2 separate regions of the Homo sapiens genome follow, and region 1 is linked to region 2. The links are contacts of gene promoters, found by promoter capture Hi-C in human tissues and cell types (Jung and others, 2019). All regions are on one chromosome and are shown on one strand. The core of a region is centred on a gene start or on the middle of the fragment in contact, and the rest is flanking DNA. Distances in the headings are between cores, read along the strand shown. Region 1 overlaps KIF15 (kinesin family member 15). Region 2 holds the start of TGM4 (transglutaminase 4).

The links. Contacts are between HindIII fragments. The study calls those that stand out against the background at their distance.
Region 1: a fragment that was not itself captured here is called in contact with the fragment with the promoter of TGM4 in region 2 in 3 of the 25 tissues and cell types used here (mesenchymal stem cells, pancreas and spleen).

Annotation. Positions count from the first base shown.
Region 1 is chr3:44,836,439-44,842,564 of GRCh38, forward strand. It overlaps KIF15 (kinesin family member 15), which reads left to right. Exons shown (of 35, transcript NM_020242.3): 27 at 1,837-1,983; 28 at 3,917-4,018; 29 at 4,636-4,800. Among named protein-coding and RNA genes, the nearest start is that of MIR564, 22 kb to the right of the region's middle. The HindIII fragment of the contact is 7,865 bases long and covers 945-6,126 here.
Region 2 is chr3:44,869,349-44,875,889 of GRCh38, forward strand. It overlaps TGM4 (transglutaminase 4), which reads left to right and starts at 5,260. Exons shown (of 14, transcript NM_003241.4): 1 at 5,260-5,349. The coding sequence starts at 5,331. It also overlaps the pseudogene PPIAP18. The HindIII fragment of the contact is 8,283 bases long and covers 4,681-6,541 here.

The sequences.
Region 1 (6,126 bases), core at 3,627-6,126, 33 kb before region 2:
AAAATATCTTGATATAAAGATTAGAACTCATAAGGGAAGATTATACAATATTAAAAACAAAAATTCTAACAACAGATGGGGAAAATATTTGCAACTGATGACAAAGTATTTTACCACCTTAATTTATCCTTCAGGAGAAGGATAGAAACACAGCTGGTGGAAAATGGACATAGGTAGCTCCCCAAAGAAGGAATATAGTGGCACAAAACTTCTTTGGAATCAGAGACATGCAAATGTTCCTGAAACATTAGGAGTTCAGCCTAGGTCTGGTTGCTTACCACACAGAAAGCCAATCACTGAGTCAAGGAGTATTGCCAGCGAAGAAGACTTTAAATGAGTGCCATAGCCAAGATAGGAGATCAGTCTCAAATCCTTCTCCCTGACTGACTAAAATTGGGAGTTTATATAGCAAGAAAGGTAACCATGTGTGGAAAAGCAGGAACTAGGGAGGGGTAAGGAAAAGGAGTTGGTTAACAGGAAACAGGTTGTCAGTTAGGCAGCCATGACAGGTGAGGGGCCTGGCATCTCATTTGTCCAGTTGCCATGATCTGGTAAGTTTCAGTTCCTTGATCTTGTCTGGGATGCCTGTTGGTTGGTTCCCTGAGAAAGGAACTCAGATAAGACAAATGTAACTTTCTTACGTTTTAAGACTGGGAGGGCCAATTTCTATGTTTATTCAAAAGAAACCATAAACATCAGTTCTAGGGGACAGTTGGGCCAGTTTCACAAATTAAAATAACAGCTATTTTCTAATCTTATAACTGGTAAAGTTTAAGACCCAAGGAAGATGTGCAGACAAGGATGATTACTCAAACTTCTGGAGGAGTTTATGTTCAGCCTTTGGGGAGGTAGTCTGGTAATACATAGCCTTATATTTTTTACATATCCTTTGAGTTTGCACTTTTAAAAATTCAGCCTAAAGAAATAATCTAGATACAAGAATGAAGTGCATAGAATAGTGAAAAATTCAAATCAACCAAAATATTTAGTGATAGATTAAATTGTGGTACATCCATAAGGTGAAATGGAGTCCACACAGTGAAAAGAGTGAGTACATGCAGAAATGTTTGTGATGTGTCAAGTTTTTTTAAAAGTGTGTGTTTATATGTGTGTATATATATCTGTGTATATCCATGTATATGTACATGTCTATGTACACACATATATATGTGTGTGTATATATATATATACATGCACACACATACCTACATACATATATATACATTTGGAAAGGAAAAGAAGGATAAGCAGTATCTGCTCTAATTTGGGAGGAATTACATATACTGTGTACATAGAAATTATGTATGCAACCTATAGGACTTCTAATTTTCTGTGCCAGTTTCCACAAAGCTACTTCCTGAAACTTTGATGGTCTATGACAATGAATCACAATCTGGTGCAAACTGCCCAGGCCCTCCTCAACTGGCTGATGGAGGCTCATCTTCACAGCTGTTTACTTTCCAGTATATAAAGGACTAGAGTCAATTGGTGAGACAACAACAAGTAACCAAGAGACCTTTGAGTCCTCCCCAGGAGAGGGAGATTGGCTTGAGATCCTGGGGGTGAGGAGAGAATGCAATTAGACCTCAAACCTAGAGTACAGTTAAACCTCAATTGGGATACCTATATATGTTTACTGTAATAATGTTAATCTCTAGACCTGTTCATCTAAATATTAACTGATTACTTTGTCTTAGAATGGATTAGCACACAAGCAAAAGAAATAGGTTTTTACATAAAACTTCCTTAGTCTGTTAAAAGTTGTACATAGTAATGATTTGGGAATCCTTATTGGAATACCATAATTAAGAAACTGTGATGATTGTCTCCTAACAGAGGGATATGCTCTGTGAGGACCTGGCTCATGCCACTGAGCAGCTGAACATGCTCACAGAGGCCTCAAAAAAACACTCGGGGCTGCTGCAGTCTGCCCAGGAAGAACTGACCAAGAAGGAAGCCCTGATTCAGGAACTTCAGCACAAGGTGAGAAACACACAGGTGTCACTCAAGATGGGAGACAAGAGACCAAGTGTAGTGGCTCACTCCTGTAATCCCAGCACTTTGAGAGGCCAAGGGGGTGGACCACTTGAAGTCAGGAGTTCAAGAGCAGTCTGGCCAACATGGTGAACTGAAACCCTGTCTCTACTAAAAATAGAAAAGTTAGCCGGGCGTGGTGGCGCTCACCTGTAATCCCAGCTACTTGGGAGGCTGAGGCACAAGAATTGCTTGAACCTGGGAGGTGGAGGTTGCAATGAGCCAAGATTGCACCACTGCACTCCAGCCTGGGTGACAGAGTGAGACCCTGTCTCAAAAAAAAAAAAAAAAAAAATGGGGGACAGGAGGAATCCACAGTTGAGGTTGTCATGACATTCCTGCATTGGCCAACTTCTCCATGTACAAAGGGGAGGCTAATGGAGTATCCTTACCTGGACTGAGACTTGCTCAGCTGCCTCCCACCCACCTTAGGTCCTTGACACATGGCAACCAGTTCTAACCACTCCAGTGAGGTTATGCCTGACTTTTATCATATTTTTGGTGGTTGTTGTTGTCATTTTATATTTTGTATTTTTCTCAGATGACTGTTTTGTTACTTGTGAAACTTGGAACATTTTTATAAGTATAAATAAATTTGTGAGAGAAAAGGAGATGGGTCCAGGTGCGGTGGCTCACACCTGTAATCCCAGCACTTTGGGAGGCCAAGGTGGGTGGATCACGAGGTCAGGAGATCAAGACCATCCTGGCTTACACGGTGAACCCCCGTCTCTACTGAAAGCACAAAAAAAATTAGCCGGGCGTGGTGGCCGGCTCCGGTAGTCCCAGCTACTCGGGAAGGCTGAGGCAGGAGAATGGTGTGAACCCGGGAGGCGGAGCTTGCAGTGAGCCGAGATCGCGCCACTGCACTCCAGCCTGGGCGACAGAGAGAGACTCCATCTCAAAAAAAAAAGAAAAGAAAAGGAGATGATGATTGGGTTATAGTAGCAACCAAGTTAGATTTCACAATTACTTTTAAAAATATCATAGGTTTATTTTAATATCTTACTGCTTTTCAAATTATTAATCAAGTTCTGAAAAAATAATGTAAATACAGCATATTTCCATATGCCATGGGAAGAAACCGCAATTACTTTTGCATCAACCTAATAACTGTAATCACCATGCCCTGCAGTAGATCTCCAAAAGGTATTCCTCCTGTCCAACTGAAACTATACCCTTTGACCAACATCTCCCATTGCTGATTCATGTCTCCTTCCACCCCTCACTTCCCCCAGACTCTGGTACTCTCCATTTCTATGAGTTCAACTTTTTTTGATTCCACATATAAGTGAGATTGTGTGGTATTTGTCTTTCTGTGCTGGCTTATTTTACTTGGAACAGTGTCCTCCAGGTTCATCCATGTTGTCACAAATGACAGAATTTGCTTCCTTTTTAAGACTAAGTAGTATTTCATTGTGTATATATATAGCACATTTTCTTTACCCATTCTCCCATCAATAGACAGTTAAGTTGACTCCATAGCTTGGCTATTACGAATAATGCTTCAGAGAACATGGGAGTGCCGCTGTCTCTTCAATAGACTGATTTTAATTCCTTTGGATATATATCCAGAGGTGGGACTGCTGGATCATACAGTAGTTCTGTTTTTAGTTTGTTGAGGAACTTCCATACTATTTTTCACAATGGCTGTGCTAATTTACATTCCCAACAGTATACAAGGATCCCTTTTCTCCACAACCTCACCAACACTTAACTTTCATCTTTTTGATGATAGCCATCCCTATCAGGTGCGAAGTGATATCTCATTGTGGTTTTCATTTGCATTTCCCTGATGATTGGTGATGGGAAGTTTGTCTTTTCTATTTGGACCATGTACCCCATATTACTAAGTTGTAACCTTGTATCTGTTCAATTTTCCCAGCTAAACCAAAAGAAAGAGGAAGTAGAACAGAAGAAGAATGAATATAACTTCAAAATGAGGCAACTAGAACATGTGATGGATTCTGCTGCTGAGGATCCCCAGGTACTTTTCAGAAAAAGATTATTTCAGGAGGAAGAAACAGTTTTGTAAATGATAAAAATTTGGAAATTAGGAAGAACATACCTTTGTCTTTTTAAAGAAAAAGATTTTCACTAATACCCTCTGTCTGCTTTTTACTTGATGAAAGTAGCAGTCTTTTATTTCCTTGGAAAAGAATTAGAATAATAAGCTAAGCAGCGGATTTTTTTTTTTTTTTTTTTTTTTTTTTTTGGCAGATGGAGTCTTGCTCTGTCACCCAGGCTGGAGTGCAGTGGCATGATCTCGGCTCACTGCAGCCTCCGTCTCCCAGGTTCAAGCAATTCTCCTGCCTCAGCTTCCCAAGTAGCTGGGACTACAGGTGCACACTGCCACGCCTGGCTAATTTTTTTTTCTGTATTTTAGTAGCGACAGGGTTTCACTGTGTTGCCTAGGCTGGTCTTGAACTTCTGAGCTTAGGCAGTCCGCCCACCTCGGCCTCCCAAAGTGCTAGGATTACAGGTGTGAGCCACCATGCCCAGCCGTAGCTAGAATATTTTTTATGTACTTGACATTTACGTTTAAAAGAAATCTTTATAATATCACTTAATTGGATATTTGGATGAGATGTGATTTTATTTTAGAGTCCTAAGACACCACCTCACTTTCAAACACATTTGGCAAAACTCCTGGAAACACAAGAACAAGAGATAGAAGATGGAAGAGCCTCTAAGACTTCTTTGGAACACCTTGTAACAAAGCTAAATGAAGACAGAGAAGTCAAAAATGCTGAAATCCTCAGAATGAAGGTAATTGGATTTTTTTTCCAGTAAATTTAATTATTTTTAAAGAGACCAAGTCTCGCTATGTTGCCCAGGCTGGGCTCAAGTGATCCATTTGCCTCAGCCACCCAGTATCTGGCACTATAGGTATATGCCACCATGCCCAGCCAGTAAATTTAATTTTTTTTTTTTTGTTTTTTTTTTGAGACGGAGTCTGCCTCTGTCGCCCAGGGTGGAGTGCAGTGGTGTGATCTTGGCTCACTGCAAGCTCCGCCTCCCAGGTTCACAGCGTTCTCCTGCCTCAGCCTCCCGAGTAGCTGGGACTACAGGCGCCCGCCACCACACTCGGCTAATTTTTTGTATTTTCTAGTAGAGACGGAGTTTCACTGTGTTAGCCAGGATGGTCTTGATCTCCTGACCTCATGATCCGCCTACCTCAGCCTCCCAAAGTGCTGGGATTACAGGTGTGAGCCACCGCGCCTGGCCAATTTAATTTTTTAAACTAAGCAGCATCCTCATGGTTACTGAGGATACAAAATTCAAAAAGCACAGAACTGAAAGGTAGACAGAGAAAAGTATTCCTTCTACCCCTGATACTAATCCACCTACTTTGCTGTCCCTGGAGGCTTCCAGGGTAGCCCCTTTCTTTTAGAGCTTTTTAATGCATACATAACCACATCGCTAAGCATTCTCTCCTGCCCCATTTGGTTTTTACACAATGGTGTCATATACAGGTTGCGCCAGCTATGCTCTCATCAGGAATGAAGGTGAGAGCATGTTTCCTTAAACCTCACCTCATGGTGCTATCTGAATTTCGGATCTTTGTCCGTTTAATAGCTAAAGTATTAAATGATGTAGTTTTACATTTATATTTTTCTTAAGAGTAAAATTGAGCATCTTGTTTTTCTGTTTCTGTGAACAATATCCATTACCCATTTTTCTATCACTGGACTTTTTCTTATTGATTCATAGGCATTTTTATATATTAGAGATTTTTTTAGTCTCTGATAAATTTAAAATACTTTCTTGTTTTCCATTTTTTTAAGCTTCCTCATAGTGTTTTTACCCAGTTACTTGATGGTATGTTGTCTGAGTAGTGGGGTGTGCACATGGCTCAGGGGTGGGGCACATGGAAGAGTGTCTGGGTAGGTGTGTAGGTGCATGGGGAAGGATGTGATGCTCCACAGAAGATAGCATTTATCCTGTGAGGTCATTGCTCTGCAGGGAGTTTTTGTTTAGGAACACAAATTGTTCACTTTAACCAAGGGATGTATATAAAGACAGCACTTATCTTGAGTTTTGTTATTCATGGAGAAGATTATTCCCAATCTTTTTATTTAGGGCAGTTCTCAG
Region 2 (6,541 bases), core at 4,010-6,509:
CACACATGCTTGTTGCAGCAGTGTTTATAACTGAGAAAAATGTAAAACAATCTAATATCAATGGGAGAATAGAGAAGTTATAGCATACAGTGTATTGAACACTATACAGTGGTGACAAGCATGAATTACATGGAAAAATTACATGAAAAAATCTCAAAATCATAATGTAGAGTGAAAAAAAGTAGAAGGGAGTGTTAAGTATGATAATTTTACAAAAAAATTTAAAACCTTCAATACTACTTATTATTTTAGATATTCACGTTTAGTAAGTATTTTTAAATATGCAAGGGAACTTAAATACCAAACTCAGAGTGGTGGTTACTTTGGGGAGGGAGGAAAGGAAATTGGGGTTGGGAAGGGATATATAAGGGGCTGAGAGCTTCAGTTATAACCCATAAGTTTTATTTCTTGAACTTGATGAGGGAGATGTAAGTTTTCATTGCTGTTTTTTTTTGAATTTTTGTAAGGTTTCATAAATGTTTTTAGACAATACTTCACTGATAAATGGGAACGATCACATTTAACAATCATTAGACATACAAATCTTACTGCTGTTGTTTAGCAAGAAAACCCCAAGATCGTCTTTGCTAGCCGATGTGTGCTCTGGGCTCTTTGGGCCTGGATAAGGAATAGCAGGGCCCAGCCCAGAGTCTGGAGGTGTGGTGAATCAGATAGGTTAGGGTGGGAGGTGAGACAGACCATGTTGGTTCCAGTGGAATTGGCTCCAGGGCTGGACTGGGCAGATAATTATTACTCCAAATTCCAGAGCCATCCAGTTCCTTTGGGAAACAAGGGCTTGGAGGGCTCAGATTTCCCCCAAATCCACTCAACTTGTCATAGATTGAGCTGAGATGGGACCCCAGATAGCCTGGCTGAGAGCCTGTCTTGTCTGTACTGCTTCCGTGTTCCCTTGCTGGTCTTCAATAGGGTCCCCAAAGTTCTTCTTGCCTGGAGGCCTGCAGCAGTGAGTCCTGACTGTCACCAGCATGGTCCCTCACAGGGTAGCCCCTCACCAGAGTTTAAAAGTCAGTCCCCTATGCAGTTAGACCTAATGCTACACCAGGGGGAAAATTCAAAAGAAAAAAATACACAATTTAGGCAACAGGGTTCCTAGCTGCATTACTGCTAGCAGCAGTTAGTTGCCTGATAGTTGAGAAATGGTTAGGCAAATATGGTAGAATATCACGTGCCCACGAACAGGGGTGAGCATTTGAAATAGGCGGATCCTAGACAGTGTCCACAAGGCAGCCTGCCAGGCATGGCCTGAAGTGCCAGGTTTGCTCCATGCAGTGTAAACACATTTGTGTACAATGGCAAGCGCTAGGAGTGGCTTAAAAAGAGGTGACTTCGGGGTTTATTGGATTCTTTTATTTTTCTCCTATAAAGTTGTTTACATATATAATAGGAGTCAGATGAGAGATGAATTTATAGTTTCAGATATAAGAAGAAAAGATTTTGCTCCCACAAATCTGTGGATGCGTATTTACTAACTCCTCCCTGTCTCCACACAAAAAAAGGGGGCGGGGATGCATCAGGATGCCTATCTTTATGATTTAGCTCCGAGCTTAGCACCATGAACAGCAGCTGTGGTGCCTAGAGTCCAACAGGGCCTCAGTTGTTCTTTCATCCTCAGAATTGGGGGGTGGATGCAGAGGTGGGTCAGGGATTAGGCTTGAATCCCCAAAACCAATGTGTATTGGGCTTTCCTTCCAAAAGGGACTCCCAGCATGCGTTGGGAGAAGAGGACACAGCCTCCCCTGACCTCTGCAGGAGGCACCTGCCCCACAGGCACAGGCATGGGGCCGCTCCCAGGCTTCCACCTGAGCACCCTGTCCTGTTTGCTTATTTGTTCATTTATTCATGCATTCCCTCATCTGCTGAGCACTCTGTGCCATGCTATGGGCTAGGGACACAAAATGAGAAGATTCCATTCCTGGCTAAGGTCCTCTATGAACTTCATCTTGAAACGTGTCTTCTGTTCCCCACCTTACCTGGTGGTTTTCAGGCTCTTCTTGCCTGATTTTTCCTTTTCTCCCTCCTCCCCAGCTCCATCATCTGTGGATTAATGTGAAGTGTAGACCATGCCAACTTTTCTGGGACAGCACATTCAGAGCCTCCTGTCCCATGGTGGGGCCTGTGTCTGGTCCTCTTGGAGAGCAGAGAGCAGAGGGTCTTGAGTGGGCTGCCTCTGATCCCAATATGCCTGGAGTTGGCCACCAGGTGCTAGTGCAATACAGTGGCTGCAGTTCAGCAGCTGGTGGGGGAGGGGGATGCTGATGGCCCCAGTGGCCTGTGACTAGACCATGGTGTCAGCTGTGGCCCCAGACAGGAAACATGAGAAAAGATGATCCTTTGGGACCAGCTGACAGATAAAATGCCACATGCACAAGGAACTAAATAAGGGCCGACTCTGCTGAGGCCCGGAAGTTCTGCTGCAGGAAGAGGGAAGGGAGGCTCACGGGGATCCTCTCCTGATGCCCAGGTGGCTGCCTCTCTCTAGGCTGCACTTTTTCCAGCTGTGAAATGAGGTTGTTGGGATGGGGGGGGTCCTTTGTAAGGTCCGCGGTGTAACTCATTTCTTGCAGAGAATTTTGAATGCCTTTGCCTCTTCACAGCATCCTGCTTCAGACACTTGACCTGTGGCGTGGGTGTTATTATTTCCCACCTCCCAGATGAAGAAACAGAGGCACAGAGAAGTAACTTCCCAAGGTCACACAGTGGATCTGTAGAGGACCCAGGATGTAGGCCCAGTTCTGTCTGACCCAAAGTCTATTTCTTTTAGACACTTTTATACTCACTCTGGTACCCTGGATTCTCTGGCCTGGAAGGCACTGGCGAAAGCTCATCTTGCACAAGCCCCTTATTTGTCAAAAATGATGAAAGAAGCTCAGAGAGGTGAAGCAACTAAAACCCGGACCCTCTCACCCCTAGGCCAGGACTTTTATTTAGAGGCTTTTTCCATTTAAGTAGTGAATTTATTCTTAAATAGGTAATTCATGCACATGGTGCTAAATTCTGATGATGTAAAAGGAAATACAGAGAAAAGCAAGCATCCTTCTCCCACTCCTGAGCCTGTAATCATAGGGCCTAGGGCTTCTCTGCAGACAGAACCCAGCCAAGACTTTTCGTAAATGCCATGTGCACTTCAGGGCTTGGTTTGTTCTATTATATTTAGGGATGCGGTGCTGAGATGCTTGCCTGCAGAACAGCAAAAACCTCTGACTTCATTATTGTTATTCAGAGTAACCAGGGTCATTGCTCTCTGGCTTGCCTTAAAGCCAGCAAAGGCAATTGCCCATCCCTGGGCTTTTGGTCTGGAAGAGACCGTTGGCATCATTATTCAGCCCCCTCACTTTTCAGGTAAGGAGCTAATGAAGACAACATTCCCAGTGACACACGGCAAGTTACTGTGGTGTTGGGGTTTCAGTGTCAGGAGTCTCCTCTCTTCCTCTGGCATTTCTGCTACTATGCCAGGCTGGCTCCTTTCAGTAGACATAACATCATTGAAAAATACCACAAGTGCCCCTGTGGAGAGCAGAGCAGATAGCCATTAAAATTACAAAAGCTTATGCTTTTTGGCCCAACATTTCCACTTCAAGGCATTCAATTCTTCCTATAGATACACTCATGTGAGGGTAAAATGATCTCTGTATAACCTTATTCTTTGCAACACTGATTGTAATAAGGAAATATTGGAAGCAACCCAGATGCCTATGGGTGGGAGGTGAGTTACATAAATTAGGGACCATCCACACAAACAGAATATGTGCAGCTGTGAAAAGACTGGGCCACCTCTCCATGTGCAATAGGAACAGCTCCATCTTGCCAGGCGTGGTGGCTCACACCTGTAATCCCAGTACTTTGGGAGGTGAAGGTGGGGCGGATCCCTTGAGCCTAGGCATTCCAGACCAGCCTGGGCAATGCAGTGATATGCTCTCATTGTGTAAATAAAACAAAATAATACATTATTTGCTTTGCAGATGCCACTGCCGCCAGGAGCCCTGTAACATCAGCCATCGTCAACCCCACCGTGTTCTTCAACATCACCGTTGACGGCAAGCCTTTAGACCTGCGTCTCCTTCAAGCTGTTTGCAGACAAGGTTCCAAAGCCAGCAGAAAACTTTTGTGCTCTGAGCACTGGAGAGAAAGGATTTGGTTATAAGAGTTCCTGCTTTCACAGAATTATTCCAGGGTTTATGTGTCAGGGTGGTGACTTCATACGCCATAATGGCACTGGTGGCAAGTCCATCTATGGGGAGAAATTTGATGATGAGAACTTCATCCTAAAGCATACAGGTCCTGGCATGTTGTCCATGGCAAATGCTGGACCCAATACAAATGGTTCCCAGTTTTTAATCTGCACTGCCAAGACTGAGTGGTTGGATGGCAAGCTTGTGGTCTTTGGCAAGGTGAAGGCATGAATATTGTGGAGGCCATGGAGTGCTTTGTGTCCAGGAATGGCAAGACCGGCCAGAAGATCACCATTGCTGACTGTGGACAGCTCTTATAAGTTTGACTTGTGTTTTATCTTAACCACCAGACCATTCCTTCTGTAGCTCAGGGGAGCACCCTCCACCCCATTTGCTCCCAGTATCCTAGAATCTTTGTGCTCTCGCTGCGGTTCCCTTTGGGTTCCATGTTTTCCTTGTTCCCTTCCATGCCTAGCTGGATTGCAGAGTTAAGTTTATGATTATGAAATAAAAACTAAATAACAAAATAATAATAATAGTACATTATTTGCTTCTCAGTGCATACAACATCTCTGGAAAGATCTAAAAGAAACTGGTAGTAGGATTCAACAAGGTGGACAGGGGGCATTTTTTTCCATTTTGAACCATGTGGATGCATTATATATTCAAAATGTAAAACAAAAAACTCACAAGCATCTCTTACTTTTTCAACTTGAAGAAAAGAGAAGAAGAAGAAAACCCTAAAGTCAGTAAAGGTTAGCCTGGGTTCCTAGACTTAAGCTTGATAGTAACCAGAATGTCAGGCCACATGTGGTGTAGGTCATAGGGTCCTGGCTTTTGGTCACCCACTGTTAGGCTCATATAACAGACAAGGAGGTGCCATTGTCCGTTGTCTGTCCCTTTTACATCAGCTCATCTTGGCTCCTGATTTCCTGGGTCTGATATGGAAGATTCCGGGATTTTATTATTTCTAATCAACATCGCCTTCCCAAACCCCGCCCCTTGGCAGCCATAGCAAGGCCACATCTAGCCCAGGATCACATAAAAAGGGCTGTTTCCTCCCCTGAGGACCGACTGTGTGGAAGCACCAGGCATCAGAGATAGAGTCTTCCCTGGCATTGCAGGAGAGAATCTGAAGGGATGATGGATGCATCAAAAGGTGAGTGGGTGAAATCTCCATGGAGCCCCACATGCCCCTTCAGCCAGCTGGCCCTAAACTGCTCTCTTGCCTCTGCCGGGTGCCTGGGGCCATTGCCCTCTCACCCTGACTTGTGGCCCTGGTGCTGCTTGCTTTCTGTCTCATCCCTTTTTAGAAAACCCACAAACTTTTCATTTAGGCATAATTTCAGATTTACAAAAAGATTGCAAGAATAAAAAGAAGAATTTCCATATATCCTTTATCCAGATTCCCTAAATTATTACTGCATTTGCTTTATCCTTCTCGATCAGTGGACAGATAGATGATATAGACAGATAGATAGACAAATATATATTTTTTGAACTCTTGAGAGTAAGTTGCAGATATTACATTATTAAATATTTTGGTGTGTATTTCCTAAAGACAAGGACATTCTCTTACGTAACCAATACAATTATGAAGACCAGGACATGAACACCATTTCAATACTGTTATCCAACCCACAGATTTTATGCAGATTTCATCAACTGTCCCAATAATGTCATTTATAGCAGAAGAAAATCCTGGGTTAGGCTTTGCATTCCGTTGTTGTGCCTCTTCGGTCTCCTTTGTCTGGAATAGTTCTTCTGTCATTCTTGGAGTTTTGTGACTTCAACACTTTTGAAGAGTACAGACCAGTTATTTTGTAGAATGTCTCTCAATGTGTCCTGTCCTTTCTCAAGGTCACCTGATGGATTTCCCTACTGCAGAGGGTCTGTCTGCTGCTGTCAGCAGTGTCATTGCTTCTCAGAGTGGGGAATAGCAGAGCGGAGTCATGTGCCAGGCTCTGTGTCCCATGAGGATGCAGCCGCCTACCACCACCAAGAGCAGACACCAGAGCCCTCAGTTTTACTTCAGGGAGTCCGGGTGCTGCTAGGGAACAACGAGGCTGGGTTTGAACCCCTCTGCTGACTCCCCAGCCCACAAGCCCTCTGTAACCTCCCAGCAGGGTTTGCTCAGCAGCCTTCTCTCTTGCTTGAGAAGCTGCTTGATAAGCCAAGGAATGGCTGCTTTGAAACTCTGCAAAGGGACTAAGCCAGACCCTCCTAGTTTCCACCTTCTTTTTTGGAGGGTGACATTGCGAAATAAATCAGACTCTTCTTTTTAGTCCCAAGGCCACAGAGTTTTGAATTCCTCCTTAGATGGCTGACGCCTCAGCTAGACTCAGTCTTGG